Linked DNA regions of Homo sapiens: regions 1 and 2 are each linked to region 3. The links are contacts of gene promoters, found by promoter capture Hi-C in human tissues and cell types (Jung and others, 2019). All regions are on one chromosome and are shown on one strand. Each heading gives the region's core, a stretch centred on a gene start or on the middle of the fragment in contact. The rest is flanking DNA. Distances are from core to core; before and after follow the strand shown.

Region 1 (3,477 bases), core at 763-3,262, 370 kb before region 3:
CCACTGGAGCTCTCTCAGATTGTCGCGGAGGGGGAATGGTGCGGGACCTGAGCCCCCAAGCCTCAGCAGCGCTCATCTCCCCCCTCCCGTAAATGGACTCCTGGAACTGCTCTGAAGGCTTAACTACTCTCTCGGGGGGCGTGGTGAGGGAAGGGCTGGCTCGCCGACCAATCAGAGTCCTGGGAACCCAGAGGGGGCGGAGCTCCTGGAGACCACCTGGCTGGTTGCCCTTCGGTTCGCGGTTCTAGTCCTGTCTTGGGACACACCGGAGGAACCGGGCATGAGGAGCAGAGGGAGTGGGAATGTGTCTGTGTGTGCCTGGAGAAGAGGGTGACAGCCACCGTATCTCTCCAAGAAACGCCAGCACACAAGCAGACACCCCCTTCTCCTGAGAGCCCAGGGACTAGATCCCCGCAAGGGCCTCGCAGATCCATTGGGTCGCAGACAGGCGCTCTTGTCACGACAGGGATCCCCTCCCTCTGCCTCTAGAGGCGCCGAAAAGAGACCCAGCCGCCAAGGAACCACGGGTTCCGGGGACAGAGAGGGGGGAAGGAAAATGCACCCTACAAATAGGAAGGGAAAGCTGATTGGCCAAGGCGTGCGCCCCGGCGGCCAATCGAAACGCCGGGCTGCCCCCTCCCTTAGCAACGTGGCCCCGGCGTTCCAAAATAGAACGCTCCCGGGACGTCAGGGGCGGGGCGGACGAAGGGGGCGCCGCGCGCCGTGCGTGCCCCGCGTCAGACGGAGGATTCCAGCGCGTCAGCCGTTACGCACGGGTCCCCCGTTACGTCTCCGCGCAGGAGGCGGAGGCAGCGCGGCTGAGGGTTCGAGGCCCCTCTTCCCGATGGGTGGAGGGCGACCCGGCACCGAAGTGGGCGCTCCGAAGGAGGAGGAAAGGAAAAGAGACTGCTGGAAGCTTCCCCGGGATTTCCCCCACCTGCCTAACTGCGCTAGCTTCAGGTCTGGGACCCGAGCAGGGGGCAGTCCCGGGGCCGGCTCAAAGTTCTCAGCCCCGCTACCGCATACACGTTGCATTGAGCAGCGCATTACCCACCCCACCCCCACCTCGCCCCAAAGCCTACCCTCCCTGCCGCGTTCCCTCCTTGCGCTCCACGCACGCAACCAATTGCAAACATCTCCCGACTCTTTGCAGTTTGCAAAGTGCGCTGTGAGCCTTTTCCATCTCAGATCTAGGGTTCTGATGCGCCTTTTTGTGGGGGTTGGGGTTTATTCTTTTCACCCTTGACTTAAAAAATAAAACCTACAAAGCAGCACCCCTACTATCAAAAACTTACCTGGGAGGCGGCGGCGGTGGGTGGACTGCCGAAGGAGTCCACCGAAGACAGATATTGAGACTCGGCAGAGGGTGAGGAGCTGCACCGGGAGCCGGAGTCGTAGTCTCCGGGGAAAGCCTGAAACATTTCCCTGGGCACAGGGGGGCCCCTGTGACCACGCTGAGGTCGCCGGGAAGCCAAGGCTATGGCCGGGTTGGGGAAGTAAGGTGCAAGTCCGGGGTGAGCCGTGGGAGTCCCCGGTGAGCTGAGCGAGTCCTCAAAGTACGCTGTCCGGGGAAGCTCGGGGAAGGAGCAACGTCCCGTTCCAACAATGGCAAAGTTTCTGTGCAGTCTTCCTGCGGTGCCCAGGCCCCCACAGGATGCCGCTGTACCTCTTGAAAGTGCAGGCTCCGTAGGACCCAGGGGCGAGGGAGGGGTTGCTCCCCCAGGGGCAGAAAGCGCTGTCCCGCTGTACAGAATCAGCTTCAGCTACGGTCTCCTCCACGCGTCCGGCGGGTCCCACGGGGGGAGGGGAGTAATAAAGAAGACCAAAAAAAGTAAGTCGGTCCTCCAAAAGAAAATGAAGAAATATCTGGAAGAATCTTTCCAAAAACTTTCTCCCCGGAAAAAAAAAGATTAATGAAATTTCATAACCCCCAAGAAGAACCACAACAATCAAGTTTCCAAGTCTTGGTTCCGCGTGTCCCTGCCGTGGCCGTAGCTCTGAGTCTTATGAATGAAGCACAGACCCGCCAGCCTGTATTTATATGCCCGGGACCCGCCCCCCTGCTTACGTCACCCGCCCCTTGCTGGACAAACTTCCCCAAATCTCCGGCCCCGCCAAATCGAGTCCCGCACTGTCCAGCAAGAGGTCTGTTCTAGACTCGATCTGGTCACTTGCATGACCCTCGGGGCCCTGGGGGTCTCGGGGGTTGCGTTCCGGGCCACTCGGCGGGAGGGGATCCCGGCCCCGCCTTCCCGGAGTTCCTGTGACGCAATTAGCCATATAAGGAGCTCGGCCGGCGCGGCGGAGTGTTTGTTTGGTATCCTAGCAATGACGTCAGAGGGAATCCCTCGCTCGCTCGCGCGCGCGCCCGCGCCCCGCCCGCGCCTGCGCAGTGCAACGCCGCCCCGGGGGCTGGTAATAATAGGCGCTTAGACTAGCCCCGCAGGGACCCCGCTGACCCGGGCGGGGAAGACCCCAGCCTGCAGGTCCCCTTCACCTCTGGCGCCCCCACCTACCCTGTTCTACCGATGGTGCAGCGCCCCCATTCGAGAAGAAGAGCAGATCTCCAAAAGGAGACCCTGATTAGTGTGGTGTGGTCACGTAGGTGGGGAAACTGAGTCCCGAGCGGGCTGTGATGCTCAGGTGAAAGTGGAGGTAATGGAGGGATTCCGAGGCTCGTCCTGGTTTCTGTCCTGATTCGCTGTGCGAGCTTAGGAAATGTTTTCCCTCTCTGAGCTTTAGCTTTAATCTTCCCCGCTGGGCAAAGGATGTGTGTCTTGGACCCTGCTGGCCTTACAGGTCCGGCGTTTGGGAGGGATGCGGATTTGGAGGAGATGGGAAATGAAACTTAGAGAGAAGCCTCTCTTCTGATGGTGTTGGTAGCCTCTCCTTCCACCTTTTAATCCACCCGGAGACAAAGAATGTGTAAGAGGGAGGGGATATTATTATTAATTCTAATAATAATAATTAATGCCTTGTATTTGGCACTTGCCAAGCACAGCTCCTGTGCTACGCCTTTCAGTAGAAGATTTGTAATCCTTAAAACAGCTCTGGAAGGTTAAGAGAGAAAAATCTTCATTTTATAAAAGAAAAAAATGATACTCAGGGAGGTTAAATGACTTGCCCAAGATCCCATCACAAGAAATTCAAACTCAGAATTGTCAAACTCCAGATTTCCTACCCTTTCCATTTCTTTTCTGATTTCTGAGACCTGCCTGGTTGGATGAAACTCCCTGAAAAACCTGTGTCTGGGGTTTTTTTAAATGATAATGGCAATATTAGTAGCTTTCACTTGTCAGGTCTTTTTTTTTTTTTTTTTTTTTTTTTTTTTGAGACGGAGTCTTGCTCTGCCGCCAGGCTGGAGTGCAGTGGCGATCTCGGCTCACTGCAACCTCCGCCTCACCTTAGCCTCTCGAGTTGCTGGACTACAGGCGCGGGCCACCACGTCAAGCTAATTTTTATATGTTTAGTACAGAC
Region 2 (3,475 bases), core at 95-2,594, 350 kb after region 3:
GGATGGTGACGTGGCCACAGCTGTGGTAGAGGACACCCCTTCTTGAGATCAGGGATGGAGATAGGATGGAGAGAAGAGTGTGTGGTCTTCGTCATCTGCTGATCCTTGTGGGCCCTCTGTTCTTGAACTCCCAAGTTTCCAGGTCCTCGTATCTCCAATACCAGGCCTTGAGGCCTTGAGGCTTTCTGTCTGGAGACCCCTGAAATTTTCATCCTGCCTCTAAATTACCCAAAGTCTCAGAATTACCCAATCTTAGGATCCTCAGTCCCCTGATCCCTTCTGCCCACCTGATCTTGACCTCAAATAGGACCCTGATCACTTGTGGCCCCACATAACTGAGTACCCAGAAACCCGGGTCTCTGTTCTCCTGGGTCCTCAAGACCCCCTGGTATCTGGGTCCCTGGAGCTCTGGTTCATTTCCTTGGATCCTTGTGATCCCAGATATTGGGGTGCTCAGAACCCCATCTCTGTTTTCATAATGCCCATGTCTCCAGATATCTTGGTTCCTGAGATTGTGACATCCTGAGATCCTCAGTATCTGTCTCCTTAGAACCCCAGTCTCTGTTACCCTGACTCCCTTTGATTCTAATAATATCAGGATACAGGGAACCCCAGTTTCTCCAGCCCAGCTCAGCTTCCTCATAACGCTACACATCTGGCTTAAGAGCTTGTACTTTCTTGCCCCTAGGATACCAGGCTCTGTGCCCTGATTCCCTGACACCCCCATATTTGTACCACTGGGCATTGTCCCTGGCCCCCCCCCCCCCACGTCACTCAGCCCCTGGGCTTTGCCCCCCAGGGTCCCCAAATCCCCAGATCCCAAGGCACAGCTTACTGGCTCCCCGATGATCTCATATCTATATCCTTGGAACCTGGGCTTATATCCTCTTGTCCCCCAGGTCCCTGGAGAGACACCGGTTTGTGCCTCAAGCTCTGCCTCCTGGCTCTGGTGACCCTATGCTCTGTGTGGATCCCACCCGGCCCGGACCCTCGGGGGCCACTCACCGGGGTAGTAAAGCGCCTCCGGCCGGGCCAGGCCGTGGGGGGGCCCGGGGACCGCCGGCAGGTCGCAGCCGCCGCGCAGAGGGTCCAGGGGGACGACAAGGCCCGCAGCGCCGCGGGGAGCGGCGGGCTCCGGGGAGGGCGCGCGCAGCGGGCGCTTGCGGAGCGGCAGCGCGGCGCCCGGGAGTCCGGCGGCCTTGGGCCGGGTGCGCAGGTCCACGGGCCCCTCGTCCATGGCCCCCGCGGGGCATCGGGGCATGGGGCCGCCGGGGACGGCGGCCGGAGAGCGGCTGGGCTCGGCTGCACGGGAGGGTGGTTTCGCCGGGCGCCGGGACTTCCCCTGCAGCCGGCTGAACTGAAGGGACTTTTGTCGGCCGGGGCGGTGCCGGCCGCCCGCCTCCCCGCCCCCGGCCCCCCCGGGGCCACCCGTACGCCCCAGGGGTTTCCTGGACCCGCCGCTGCTCCCGCCGCTCTGAGGTGCAGCCTGCCCTGCGCCCCGCCCGCGCCGCGCCCCGCTTGCCCCCTCCCGGCCCGCGGCGCCTGGGGCAGCCAGGCCTCGGCGGGGGAGGGAGAGGAAAGGAGGGGTGGGGGGAGAGGAGGCGGGGTCGGGGGGTGGGGGGGTGTCCCCACCCCTGCTGCCAAGGGCCGCTCTCTCTGCCTCTGTTTTTGTCTTTCTGGCCCTATCTCTCAACATCTCTATCTCTGAGTCTGTAACTGTCTCTCTGGTTCTCCTGTCTGAGTAGGTGTTTCTCTCCGCAACCCCGCGTTTGTCTCTGTGTGCTCTGTTCCGTCTCTGTCTCTCTCTTTTGTCTCTTTGTGTCTGTCACCATCTCTCTGCCTCTCAGTTGCTGTCTGCTTCTCTGTCTCTCAGGAGGCCTTGGCATCTCTGGGACGGGGTTTGGAATCTCGGTTCCCACTTACTCGCTGGGTGACCTTGGCCAAACACTTCCCCTCTCTGAGCCGTTTCCTCCTTAGTGGGAGTGAAGAGACGCACCCGGGGCAGGGACTGGCACTCGGCAGGCGGCCAGGAACGATTCCTCTCCCTCCCCTCTTCCATCTCTGCCACTCCACGTGCCTCATCAGCTGTGGGTCTAAAGGGGCTGGGGGTGGGGTGAGGGTGGGGAGCGCTCCACTGATTGTGTCTCTGCACTCGTTGGGGGCCCTGCCCCCAGCCGGGGCCCGCGGGGCACCGGGGTGGGTGCTCGGAAAATCCTAGGTGCACAGAGAGAAAGAGACATGGAGACAGGCGCAGAGATCTTGAGAGAAAGAGAGATAGCAAGAGACACGGACACCAGGCCAGAGTCAGCGCGACCGAGGCCGGTGCTGCAGGAGCGGGGAGCAGTTTGGCTTCCCCCCGACTTCCCCTCCCACCTCGAGGAGGGGTTGATGGGTGGGGAACAGGCTAGGCGGGTTGGGGGCATGACTCAGGCTGGAGATGGGAGGGAGGGAGGAGGGAGGCGGGACTCTTCCCCGTCTCCTCCCCTCCTCTCCCTCTCCCCGCCCCGGGGTGGGGCCCCGAAGGTCCGGGGCTTTCCCGGATTTCCCTGGGGGCGGGGCAGCCGCTGGGGTTGAGTCCGGGTCACTGAGTCACAGGAGGCGGAGAGGGAGGCTTTGGGGACACAGGGGGCGGGGCATGGGGGCTGCACCCCGGACTTGCCCAGGGGGCACGCGGCGTCTCTCTGGTTCTCTCCCCCGGTCTCCTTCTGTCTTCGAAACTTGCCTGACCTCCCTCTGGTTGTCTCCTGCCCCGCCCTCTGTCTCTGTCTCCCCATCTCTGTTGCTGTCTCTGTGTCCCCTGGGACCTTGAAAGTGGGTATTGGGGCCCCGGGAAGGGACTTTGGCCGGACTCGGGCCCCACCCGAGTGGATCGTTAACCCAGGATGTGAGAAGTGGCTGTGTGGAGAGGCCTCACCCCTTCCCTTCCTTTCGACCTCTCTCTGGATCTCCCTTATCCCCCTTCATGGCGAAACATCCCGAGCACAGACCTGTGTTAATTCCACCTCCACCCCTTGCTCCCGGTGGGACCTCAGACAAGCCATCCCCTGCCTTGAGACTCAGTTTGTTCTTCTGGAAAATGGGACCAATGGCAACCCCTGCCTGCTGGTGTTGTGGGGGCCACAGCAAGGGAAGAGGGGAGGAATTCGGTTGGACAGGCTGGGGGCTGTGTTCCCTGCCCATCCAACCCCACCCCTGGGGACCCTCAGACACAGGAGAGGGGTGTGGAGCACTATCCCAATGCACAGAAAGGAAAGCTGAGGTTTGGAGGGGCGAGGCTTAGGGTGGGGACCCTCAGAGGTAGGGTGGGAAGGACACCCAAGCCTGTCCCACTCCTGGCATCCCAGGGCAGCTGGTGCAGTGGTTCCAACCTAGCAGGACTGTAGAGGGGAGAAGATGTGATGGGTCCGGTGGGAGCTTCGAAGGGCTGGGAGAGACGGTGCTGCTGGAAGAGAGGGTGCTGATGGTTCTCTGAGGT
Region 3 (3,344 bases), core at 305-2,804:
TGGTTGGCAAGGAATGAAGGAATGAATGCAGGAAAAAAGGACTCAGTGAACGAAATCTTCCTTCCCCACACCCCATGCTCCCTGACTGTCCTGAGCCCCAGTGCCTGGGTTACAAAGGCTTTGCGGCACCCGGCCTGGGTGCTCATAAGCAACCCCACTTTGCCCGGAGTCCTTAAGGTTCCTGGAGGCGTTCAGTGGTTCCACCCCTCCCAGGAGCCAGATGGACAGGATGCAGCCCTCTGCAGCACTGGTCCAGGGAGGGGAGATGGGCCCGAACAAATAACAACAGAGCGAGGAGGCGCCATGGGAACCCAGACGAGCGGAGCAGAGCTTTGTCCGGGGATTAGAGAAGGCCTTGCCCAGAAGGCAGCACGGGAGGGGGAGTTGGTCAGGAAGGGCAGGGGACTATCGAGGGGTGTGCTGGGCAAAGGCGCCTGCGTCTAGGCGTGGGAGGGGTAACGGGAATTGGTCAGGAAGGGCAGGGGACTAGCGAGGGGCGTGCTAGGCAGAGGCGCCTGTGTCTAGGAGGCTGGGCGTTCTGTGGGAAAGGCCTCCCACACCAGGCCCACGGGTGTGGACTTTGTCCTGTAGTTACAGTGGAGCCCTGGGGGCTTTCTGAAACAGGACAGAGGATCAGAACCATTCAAGCTGCCGGGCTATAACTCAGCTCCTCCTCTACTACCTGTGTGGCCTTGGCACCTCTGTGAGCCTGTTTCCTCCTCCAAGATTAACGATGCATGTAAAGAGCTTAGCCCTGTTAAGCGCTCCATAAATGGGAGCTTTGAGTACCATCACCTCCATCACCACCACCAGGAGGCATGACCCCTGCAGAGAGTCACTTCCCTGCGGCTCGCTTTCACCTTTTGGCAGCCCCACTCTCCCACCCTCCCTCCCTGTTGTCCTGGGGAACCAAGCGAGTTCAGCTGTGACAGTGCTTTGCTTTGCAAAAGGGAAGACTGCACAGGACGCGAGCAGTTCTCCACTACATCGCTGACAGCAGCTGGTGAGAGCCTCGGAGACCGTGGAGAGAGGGAGGGGTGGGTGTGAAGGTGGCACACGAGTCCGACCCCGGCGGGTCCCAAGCGCCAGCTTGCTAGAGGAGCCCGCCCACCTAACCAGGGAACACATTCCCAGCTGGAACCCAACCAGCCCTGAGGGGAGCATCCGACTGCAGGGCTCCCGACCCAGGCTTCCGCTGCGAAGTGAGATGGGCGCTGGGCAAGTCACATGAGCTGTGCGGATGTCAGCAGACACTTCCAAACCTCCACCCCCACCTTGAGGCAACCGCTCAGTACCAGCTGCCTAGAGGAAGGGAAGGGGTGAGAACAACTTCTGAGTGCCTACTGTGTACCTCCATCCACCACCAATTCATCCAGTGTGAGACCCTGCGGAGGGCCAGGCACCATGGAGGGTGCTGGGGACACAGGTGAGCCAAGACAAAGATGGGTCCTGCCTTCATGGACCTTCCTACTTAATGTACGAAACATAGCCAAGCATGACGGATCTCTCGAATTCCTTTTGGCACCCAGCCTCTGAACCACCTTCTTGCAATTAGGGAAGCCCCTCCACATCTCCCACCTCCTCTTAGCTGAAACAGCAGACCCCAGCCTCCTGTGTGGCTCCAGCCCAGGAGCCTGACGTGGGCTCAGCCCTGGAGGTGCTGTGGCGGCTATGTAACAGGAGCGGCATCAGCTCCACACTTGATGCAGGGTGTGCTCCTGCTGGCGTGGGCCCCAGGCCTGGCTCTCTGGTCTTCCCAGAGAGTCTAAAAACTTTGAGAGAGTCCTCATCTGGCAAAATGGCTTCACAAATGGGGAAAGTGGTCCAGGGAGGTCAAGGGACTTGCCCAAGGCCACACAGCCCAAGTGTGGAGGAGCCGAAATCACACTCAGGCAGATGATCCTACCCGCTGGTCATCTAGCCCCACCTGCCTAACCCTTACAGCCGGGGGAGGCAGGAACCAGTCAAGTTCAAGGCAGTGACCACCTCACTCAACTTTCCCATGTCCTCATGAGCGCCTGCAACAGCCAGCTACTGTTCCAGCTGCTTTCCAAGTAGAGGCTAATTTAATCCTCAATCCCCATACAAATGGGGACACTGAGGCAAAGAAGCTGGGTGATTTGCCCAAGGGCAGAGCTGGGACTGGCACCCAGGGGGCTCCCGTGCTGCCTCTCAGGTTACTGCCATTTCACAAACATGGAACGAGGCCCGCTGCGGGCTCCAGAGTCTCCTCCTGGAACCCTTGGGCCAGACGTGTTTTAGAATCAGAATTTTCTGGATTTTATAAGACTGATCAGACACCGATATTGCGCTAAGCCACCAGAGGGGTTTGGGATGGTCTGTAGAGTTTTCTGGATCTGGGTACTGTGAGACCTGAAGGGACTGTGGAGGTGAAGTCACTGGAGAGGTCACCGGACTTCACAGCCCACACGCCTCCCACAGCCCATGCAGGGGCAGGATGTCCCAAGCAGGCCAAGGACACGCTGGCTGGGGGAGCACGAGGGAAGGGACTCAGATCCAAGGAGAGAAGGGAAGGGGAATAACAGTCACCTCAGAGGTGCTATGGGAAACAGTGGCATCGGCAAACCTGCTGGTGGAGGGGAGGACTCAGAGGAATCTGATGAAGAAGTCAATGAAGTCAAGTGTCAGCTATCAGCCAATATGAGGCTACGCCAAGCCTACAGCCTCCGGGCTCCTGGCTCACGGCCCCTCCCTGGCCTCCCTGTCTCAGTCTCACCCTATTCATGTCACCTCCACACAGGATTCTGTTAAAAACACCCACCATGCCCCTCCTTTTTCTTTTGAGACAGGGTCTCACTCTGTCACATAGGCTGGAGGGCAGTGGTGTGATCACAGCTCACTAAAGCCTCGACCTCCTGGACTCAAGTGATCCTTCCACCTCAGCCTCCTGAGTAGCTGGGACTATAGGCACATGCCACCATGCCCGGCTGATTTTTGTATTTTTTGTAGAGACAAGGTCTCGTCATGTTGCCAAGGCTGGTCTTAAACTCCTGGGCTTAAGTGATCTTCCCGCCTGGAGCTCCTGAAGTGCTGGGATGACAGGCGTGAGCCCCCCATGCCCAGCCCAGGCCCCTTCTTAAGCCCTCTGGGGCTCCCTGCTAGCACAGCCCATAAGGCCCCACACAGCAGTCTCTCCTGCCTCCTCCAGCCTCACCTCTGACCAGCCTGCCTCTACCTCAACTAAGTCTGGCTTTTTTCTGTTCTTCAGACATACCAGGCTGGTTCTCTCTGCCTTCCACCCCTGGTGCACTCCTCCCACTGCTCCTCACCTGGCTTACTGCTGGATTTCCTTGGTGACGTCCTTTCTAGGAAGCTGCCTCTGC

Evidence for each region. Contacts are between HindIII fragments. The study calls those that stand out against the background at their distance.
Region 1: a contact is called between the fragment with the promoter of FOSB here and a fragment that was not itself captured in region 3, in 2 of the 25 tissues and cell types used here (dorsolateral prefrontal cortex and lymphoblastoid cells).
Region 2: the fragment with the promoter of BCL3 here is called in contact with a fragment that was not itself captured in region 3 in 1 of the 25 tissues and cell types used here (dorsolateral prefrontal cortex).

The regions. Positions count from the first base shown.
Region 1 is chr19:45,466,531-45,470,007 of GRCh38, reverse strand. It overlaps FOSB (FosB proto-oncogene, AP-1 transcription factor subunit), which reads right to left and starts at 2,012. Exons shown (of 4, transcript NM_006732.3): 1 at 1,296-2,012. The coding sequence starts at 1,421. RefSeq lists an enhancer at 1,010-1,911 and a silencer at 2,096-2,375. The HindIII fragment of the contact is 8,650 bases long and covers 1-3,477 here.
Region 2 is chr19:44,746,577-44,750,051 of GRCh38, reverse strand. It overlaps BCL3 (BCL3 transcription coactivator), which reads right to left and starts at 1,344. Exons shown (of 9, transcript NM_005178.5): 1 at 1,006-1,344. The coding sequence starts at 1,261. RefSeq lists silencers at 1,106-1,695, 2,106-2,235, 2,296-2,775. The HindIII fragment of the contact is 56,727 bases long and covers 1-3,475 here.
Region 3 is chr19:45,101,177-45,104,520 of GRCh38, reverse strand. The region is part of intron 1 of PPP1R37 (protein phosphatase 1 regulatory subunit 37); the gene reads right to left. Among named protein-coding and RNA genes, the nearest start is that of PPP1R37, 9.7 kb to the right of the region's middle. The HindIII fragment of the contact is 9,683 bases long and covers 1-3,344 here.